Regions from separate parts of the Homo sapiens genome. Here region 2 is linked to region 1. Evidence: promoter capture Hi-C in 16 types of primary human blood cells and fetal thymus (Javierre and others, 2016). All regions are on one chromosome and are shown on one strand. Each heading gives the region's core, a stretch centred on a gene start or on the middle of the fragment in contact. The rest is flanking DNA. Distances are from core to core; before and after follow the strand shown. Region 1 holds the start of TTC5 (tetratricopeptide repeat domain 5). Region 2 overlaps LOC100507513 (a long non-coding RNA gene).

Region 1 (4,341 bases), core at 1,719-4,218:
AGAGATCGAAACCATCCTGGCCATCATGGTGAAACCCGGTCTCTACTAAAAATACAAAAATTAGCCAGGCATGGTGGCGCACACCTGTAGTCCCACCTACTCGGGAGGCTGAGGCAGGAGAATCGCTTGAACCTGGGAGGCAGAGGTTGCAGTGAGCCAAGATCATGCCACTGCCCTCCAGCCTGGCAACAGAGCAAGACTCCGTCTCAAAAAAAAAAAAAAAAGAGTCTCGTAGGTTGCCCAGGCTGGTCTCAAACTCCTGATTTCAAGCAATGCTCCCACCTCAGCCTCCCAAAGTGCTGGGACTACAGGCATAAGCCACCAAGTTTCATATTTAGATTTGGGTCCCATCCCCAAGTTATCTCATTATGTATATGCAGATATTCCAAAATTCAAAAAAATCCAAAATCCAAAAAACTTCGAGTCCTAAGCATTTCAGATAACAGATATCCTATTCTTTCCTGAAACTAAATAGATAGCAGCAGAAAGATATAATCACTTCCCTTCGAGTGTAATCAACAATCTTCACAACACATCCTGAATTCATCCACCTGTCTCCATCCCACTATGACCATTCCTGGATTACATCAGCTTCATTACTTGCCTGGACTGCAAGAGCTTCTTAACCAGTCATCTTGTTTCTGTTCTCTCCCATTCTCCTCACTGTAGTGGGAGTGATCTTATAAAAAACGTACATCATATCACAAACCTTCAAATAGTTTCCCATTGCAGACAGAATAAAATCCAAGTCCTTATCATGACCTAGAAGACTGTATGAGCTGACCTACCACCACCCATCCTGACACAAACTTCACCTCTCACCATTCTCTCTCCTACAATACTCAAGCCAGAGTTGCCTTCATGCAGTTTCTCAAACCCATCAAGCTCAGCCCACCTGGAAGACCTTATGCCTGGACACTTTCTCCAGATCTCTGCATAACTTATTCCTCATCATCATTTAGATCTTAGGTCAAATATCAATTCCAGAAAGGTTTTCCCTAATTACTCAACCCAAATGAATCCATTCCTTCTCTCCTCTACTGTTATATCATACTCTTATTTTTCTTCATACTTATTTAAAATCATGTGGCCTATCATTAATTGTCTATTGTCTGCCTCCACCACTGAAATGTAAGCTCCAGGATGGAAAGGCCTTTAATCTGTTTTGTTTCGAGCTACACCTGAGCACCAGAACGGGACTTGGGACATGATAGGCTCTAATTCACTACACTTGATTGAATTAACTAACTAACTATCCCTGTTCTAACAAATACATATGTGCTATACTTAATTTAAAATCCTATCCAGAATGAAGGGAACAGACTAGCACCCTCTGCAAATTTTATTGTATTATATCCAAGACCCAGCCTGCAGAGACTCTGATTTTAACAGTTTAGCAGAACTCAAAATTCTACATTTTTAACAGGCACCCCAGATGACTGTAATGAAACTGTCTGTAAAACACACTTTGAGAAATATCCATTTATACACTCTTTTTACACTAAAATGTCTTTAACAATGAAATCAAAGTTTACCACCATCTCCATGAACAGCAACACCATTATCTAATCCTTTTCCTCTTCTCTACTTCACTCCTTTATTCCATTCCTGCACCGACCCCACCCCAAGATAACGGAAGTATCCTCTCCCAAGCTGCTTAGGACATTTACCACAAATGAACCTAGGAAAAGACAATTCTCATAAAAAATTACAACCAATTTCCTTTTGTCCTGCAATCAACATGGCTGCAAATTAAGAGTTTTAGAGAAGGGCTTATTGATTGGTTTTAGTTGTTAAACCAAACATTCAAGAAGTTGTTTGGTTTTATTGTTTGGTTTTGTTTTCCTCTGGACTGAATGTTTTTAGAAACTTATTTTTTCATGGCAAAATCAATACATGTAAGTTGTTAAAATTCAAATAGATACATGTAAAAAAAAGAAAGTACAAAATTACCCCAAAGAACCTCAGTGATAACCACTGATTTGTATACCTTTTCAGATTTTTTTCTGTGCATATACAAACATATATACACAAATAATGTTTCTAATATAGAACCAGAATTGAGAATCTCTGATTTCAGCCAGTCACAGTTAGGGAATAAAATGAAGTTAATCCAAATCAGCTGGAACACTCTAAAAAGTGTTACTATTTTAATGTACCCAAGAACAAAGAAATTTCACCAGTATTTAAATTTGTGCGTTAAACACCTTTAGGCAAGTTACAAGCCTGTCATAGTTCTAATATTTAAGTTACAGGCTGCCTTAGAACGAAGAACTGAGTTCCTGAGGTGTAAGGAAAATCATGGGTTCTTAAAGGCAAAGAGCCAAGCAACTAGTTAACGCCTCCCTACCAAGTCCAAAAGACTAGTCTTACCTGTGGACTATGTGGAGTCTGGACCCCTCTGCATCAGACCCCAAAGTGGAATTACACAGGTTGAAAGAAATCAAAACTGAAATCCTAAGGGGAGTAACCAGGACACTTGCAGTGCAGGTCATTAGCGTGATTGTTGCCAAATTCAAAGCAGAAAGGTGTTAAATGGCTTTTGTAGGGATCAAAACAACATGTGACAGTAGTTCATGCAGATCTGCCACACACATGTATATGCTATTCGCTATGGATGAATCGAGAAAACAACGTCCTCTCTAAAAATGTACATGAACAGTTAGGAGCAACAAATCTTCTTCCATACAGGACTGAAATTAACCGCAGTCAGGTCGGCAGCAGGAGGTTCCAACGAGGCTCCCTGGCTGGCTGCGGCTGCACCCTCGAGGGTTGTTATAGTAACCACACAGACGCACGCAGCTTCGCGTGTGTGCCGAGGAATTCACGGGCAGTACATAAACTGGACTCCCTGCTTCATTCGGAGTAACAAAAACACATACAGAATTTAATCTACGGCCCCACCTGCAATTTCTGCAAGATCGGCTTGACTTCTTCCTCTTCATCAGCCATCATCTCCCGGCCACTCCACCCCCAACTTTATAACCACAGAGACGCACGCCCTCTCTCACCGCGGAACCACAGCGACATCTGGCGTTCTGGAGGCTTTTCTGCCCCAGAAGGGCTTTGCTTCAAACCGACTTAACCATTTATTTCCACAGAGATGCTCTACAATCACTTGTGAGTTCATAAACTTCTTTCTTTCCCAGATCCTGGAAACAAAATGTCCTCAGCTTAATTTCTATATTCTTGTTTCATGTCTTCCTACTTATTTATACTAAGATTATAATACTCCATAAAGAAGAGAGTTTAAGAAGTGCACACCTGTGTTGTTTGAAATTTCGAAAGCCATGTAGTACAATAGCTACTTTACTCAATCTTTTCCAAACTTTGCAGTAATTTTCTATGTATGATTAATTTTATCATTTTAATGCACTATCTTAATAAATACTACACTTGGGATGGCTCATAAAAACCACCATGCTCTACACTAACAATGCCTCCATATTTATAGACAACATCCAGAAGGATATATAAGAAAGGATGACTGTCTCTGCAGAGGGAAACACAGAAACTGGGGAACTGTGGGTGAGCGAAGAAAATTTTCACTGCCTGCCCTTTTGAATTTTCTTGCCATCTATATGTATCACCTATTCAAATATAAACATTTTTAAATAAAAAATTATTTGCTTCTACATAGTCTCTGGAAAGAGACACAAGACACTGGCAAGACTATCGCTTACAAAGAGCAGAAGTGAGTGGCTGGAGCAAAAATGAGTGACCAGGGAACTGGGGTAGACTTTTCACTCTATGCCTTTTTTGTAACTTTAAAGTTTGTACCTTGTGAATATATTAAACTTCTGAATAAATCTTTTAAAGTGTCATGTAATATTCCTGGCAGTTTTGCTTTACTTTTTTAGTTTTAATTACAGCTTCAAGCTGATTCTGTGAAACTAACAAAGAAGTAAAACGTTCAAGGCAGAAATCATGAATATACATAAAATCATTTCCTCAAATCATTTTCCAACATAAAGGAAATAGTTTGTATTGTAACCTATAAAATCTATGTCGTTAGCTGTAAAATAGGGAGGGATGTTTTAAAAATTTTTTTTTGAGATGGAGTCTCACTGTGTAGCCCAGGCTGGAGTGCAATGGCGCCATCTCGGCTCACTGCAACCTCGGCCTCCCAGGTTCAAGCGATTCTCCCGCCTCAGCCTCCCGAGTAGCTGGGGCTACAGGTGCATACCACCACGCCCGGCTAATTTTTTGTATTTTTAGTAGAGACGGGATTTCACCGTGTTAGCCAGGATGGTCTCGATCTCCTGACCTCATGATTCACCCGCCTCAGCTTCCCAAAGTGCTAGGATTACAGGCGTGAGCCACCACACCCGGCCCTAAAAC
Region 2 (4,357 bases), core at 1,721-4,220, 560 kb after region 1:
GCATGTGACTACCAGGGTGGGAACTTGTTCTTGTTGAAGTTCTTGTTCTTTGTTTCAGTTTAGAGTGTTAAAAACATATGTCACTGCTGGCAAAAGGACACTACATGCAATTTGAACCAAAAACCCTTATTTATTAACCCACTAAAAGATATCTACATCAGCCTACAGGGCTATTGACATTCTATAGACGAAGTCAAAGTGCAGGAGGGAGCAAGAACAACCTCAGACCCATGGTGTGCTTGCTTGACTTCAGATACTTATAATTTTGTTCTCCTTCAAATCTTCTCCAGGTGAGCATAAAAAAAATGGATGTACTCTTCCAGAATTTTCCTTCACCTACTTTATGAAAATAGTCATTTTTCACCTTCCTCCAGATTTCAAAAACGCCAGCAAAGCTTGATTTGGGAAGTGGTGCCCCCTGCTGCAGAGATGTTGCAGAGAGAAAATTCCTTGTGCTCTTCTGTCAGTGAGGAACTGCTCCAAGTCATTCACACTCCTTCACCTCGGTTTCTAGTAGGCTGATGACAGGGAGTGAGAGATGGAAACTCAGTTCCCTCAAAGGAATCTGGCCAGCTCAGGCTGTGGGCCTCAGTTGTGGGGAAGATTGAGTTATGATGGGAGATTCCTTATAGTTCTAAGACATGTGGAGATGAATTAGAAGGAAGCTAACCAATATTGCACAGATATTGTGCTGTGTATGATTCGTTTATGTATTTATAAAGGATGCCTCGTTCCCCACTAAAGTGCATTTGTTTTGATAGAGGGTTTTCACTCCACTTGGTCAAATTACAAATATGTTGTTATTAAGAAATTTCATAACTATGTTTATGTAAAATGTGGTTTTAAATGTAATTTTTGAGAGAATTTATTTAAAAGGGAAAAACATGCTTATATGTGAAAAGTGGGTAATATAAACATGTTGCTTGTTTTTGAGAGAAAGTCTGTGGAAGAACTAATGAGAATCTAGGCTAAGGCTCCTATAAACTTCAATCTCTAGTGAGAGTTTTATCATAAAGTCCAGGCAGCTGTGCTGTCATTGAACATTGAGCATCAGTATCCCCATATCTCTAAAGGGGAATGCTAAGCTGAGTTTTCTGCAGACCACGACCACCAGCTTTTGAGGTAACTTTAGCCTCCTTATGCAGAAATGAGGAAGAAAATCTTGTAGGTGAGGATCAATGATGCACTAGCTGGGCATCAGTGGCAGCCTGACAGTAAGACACTGATTGTTCCTCTTAAGTTGGTGTATGTCTGTCACTATTACCCTACACATTAGCTTGCTCCCTGCTAGCTTATTGACAGAAACAAATGTAAATGCTGCATTAATCAAGTGTATATGTGTCATAAATATTTTCTCTTAGTATGGCCTATACTTTGAAATCCTGAACCTAAGGGTTTTGGGTTTAACCTTTGGTTATCACTCAAAATGAAACACCTATGTTTTCTTGTAGATCTTGTCCAGAATGGCCTGCTGAATCCTTGAAAGCCGTAAGAGAGACGTATAGCAACCTATTCTGAATCAACTTGTTCAATCTAGCAATTCTGTCACTCTAAGAGAATCTTCTCAGCCTCGTACTCCTTTCTTGGACAACCACTACTTTAAAAGCAGGATCATGTTCAATGGCATTCTGGCAATACAGATGTCCATTAAGTAGAAATGCACAATGTCTACTTGTTGAATATCTAATTGTTCTCCAAATTTATTAACAGGATCTTCTATCTTGATAGGAAAAAAAAATTCATATTTTGAAATCTATCTATCTATCTATATAGATAGATAGATATATTTTCTTTCTGAGAATATATATATTTTTTCTTTTTGAGATGGAGTTTTACTCTTGTTGCCCAGGCTGGAGTGCAATGGCACAGTCTCAGGTCACTGCAACATCCACCTCCTGGGTTCAAGCGATTCTCCTGCCTCAGCCTCCCGAGTAGCTGGGATTACAGGCACCTGCCACCATGCCTGGCTTATTTTTGTATTTTTAGTACAGACGGGGTTTCACCATGTTGGCCAGGCTGGTCTCAAACCCTTGACCTCAAATGATCCACCCGCCTCGGCCTCCCAAAGTGCTGGGATTAGAGGCGTGAGCCACTGCACCTGGCTATATATATATTTTTAGAACTCCTTCTTTCCACAGTGTAGAAAGTACACATTACAAAGCTCAGTCAAATGCCAGGAACTTAAACATCCACACATTAGCATAAATTGTTAATTAATTTCTCAAAAAAAGAAAAAAATGCATCTCACTTGAATTCCAGGGAATCAACCTAAAGTATACTGAGATTCCTAAACTGAACCTTAAAACACAAGACACAGAATCAAAAGTCAAAGAACAAAAGGAACATTCTTCAGCAGGAGATAGGGAGCTGGTTTTAGAAACAGGTGGAGATCACCGAGTCTCAGCATAAGCAAAAGCAACACAGAAACCTAGGCTTTTGAAAAATGTCTAAAATACAGCAAAAGAGAAGGCATTCGAATGTTTTTGTGTAGTAATAGCAGGCTACTAATACAGGAATACAGACTATATTAATCCATGACATTTCAGTGAAACAATAAAAACAACTCTTTGGACATCCAGAAACAAAGGATGTTTTATCTAGTTAACTTTTTTTTTTTTTGAGACAGGGTCTGGCTCTGTCTCCCAGGCTGGAGTGCAGCAGCCCAACCTCGGCTCACTGTGACCTCCACCTCCTAGGCTCAAGCGATCCTCCCACCTCACCCTCCTGAGTAGTCGGGACTACAGGCGTGTGCCACTACGCCCGGCTAATTTTTGTATTTTTTGTAGAGATGGGGTTTCACCATGTTGCCCAGACTGGTCCCAAATTCCTGGACTTAAGTGATCCACTCACCTCACCCTCTCAAAGTGCTGGGATTACAGGCATGAACCACTGCCCCTGGCCCCCTTTTTATTCATATGTGAAGACAATAGAAAGACATTCTTCCATCACTAATATTTACTTAATTAACATTTCTGAGTGCCTTTGATATGACAAGCACTATGCTAAGTGCCATATAGGGAGAGGTGAACAAAACAGACAGGTGCTTGTATCCTAGAAAACTTTGCCTCTGCACACCTTGCTTGTGATAATAATTATAGGGCATATGCCAAACACTGAGCTATAAATCTATGAAGGAAGGATGTTGCTTACTTATCACAAGTGATAACCAGTGATACCAGTATCTATGAGCCATAGAAAAAAAGATTGCCTATTTCCCTGACTAGCTCAGAGGGATACAGCTTAATTCAGAAGATAAAACCTTTTCTTTTTTTTTTCTTTGAGATGGAGTCTTGCTCTGTCGCCAGGCTGGAGTGCAGTGGCGCAGTCTCGGCTCACTGCAACCTCCACTTCCCGGGTTCAAGCAATTCTCCTGTCTCAGCCTCCCGAGTAGCTGGGACAACAGGTGCACGCCACCACGCCCAGCTAATTTTTATATTTTTAGTAGAGACAGGATTTCACCATGTTGGCCAGGTTGGTCTTGATCTCTTGACCTCGTGATCCGCCTGCCTCAGCCTCCCAAAGTGTTGGGATTACAGGCGTGAGCCACTGCACCAAGCCAAGAAAACTCTTTCTTTATGGCAGCATTAGGCACCCCCAATAAGAGCCCACTCACATCATCATGATAGACAGAAACACTGCAGGGGGAAAAATGATCTTGCCTTTGGGCACCAGGACATTGGGACCTCCCAAGTAGTCTGCATCAGTGGATCATAAGGACCAACCATTTATCAAATCTGGGAAAGACAAAAGGCAAGCATAAGATTAAAAAGTAATGCAGGTCTTCGCCAGATGGCTCTGCTGCTTAATAAGTAAAATCACAATCACAGAAGGTGATAACCAAGGATAATTAGGTAAACGACCACACTCCATTTAATCACAGTTCAGAAGATCTTCCCTAATTTCTGCTGAAGTCTCTTCAATAATTTCACCTACCTCTGGAAGAAACTAGAGGACTAATGGGAAGAGTCCATTGGTGTTTATGTGGGAAAAGGAAGGTGCAAGCCATTTCAGCTCAAGGAAAGAAAGGAAGGGAGGGAGGGAGGAAGAAAGAGAAAGAGAAATGAGGAAAGGAAGGAACGGAAAAGAGAGAAAAGAAGAAAGGAGGGTAGAAGAAAGAAAGGAGGGAGGGAGGAAAGAAGAGAAACTGACTTTCCAAAGACACAGCTGAAGCAGCAGCTAAGAGGTAACATTATGAAAGTATGGGGTATCATTCTTCAGGATGCAGTGTATTTATTAAATCAGAGGCCTGTAAAGGGTACTGTGTTCCCAATAGGAAGAATACACGGATCCAGGAACCGAGAAGTAGAAGCAGGAGTAGCTCCACTTACCATCTCTCTGATTGACCCACTCAGATATG

The links. Contacts are between HindIII fragments. The CHiCAGO score rates a contact against its expected background, and 5 or more counts as called.
Region 2: a contact is called between a fragment that was not itself captured here and the fragment with the promoter of TTC5 in region 1, in 4 of 17 cell types (fetal thymus, naive B cells, naive CD4 T cells and 1 more). The highest score is 7.0, in fetal thymus.

The regions. Positions count from the first base shown.
Region 1 is chr14:20,302,983-20,307,323 of GRCh38, forward strand. It overlaps TTC5 (tetratricopeptide repeat domain 5), which reads right to left and starts at 2,969. Exons shown (of 10, transcript NM_138376.3): 1 at 2,905-2,969. The coding sequence starts at 2,955. RefSeq lists an enhancer at 2,875-3,114. The HindIII fragment of the contact is 10,592 bases long and covers 1-4,341 here.
Region 2 is chr14:20,866,723-20,871,079 of GRCh38, forward strand. It overlaps LOC100507513 (a long non-coding RNA gene), which reads right to left. Exons shown (of 4, transcript XR_110261.4): 4 at 3,513-3,734. Among named protein-coding and RNA genes, the nearest start is that of RNASE3, 22 kb to the right of the region's middle. The HindIII fragment of the contact is 5,154 bases long and covers 394-4,357 here.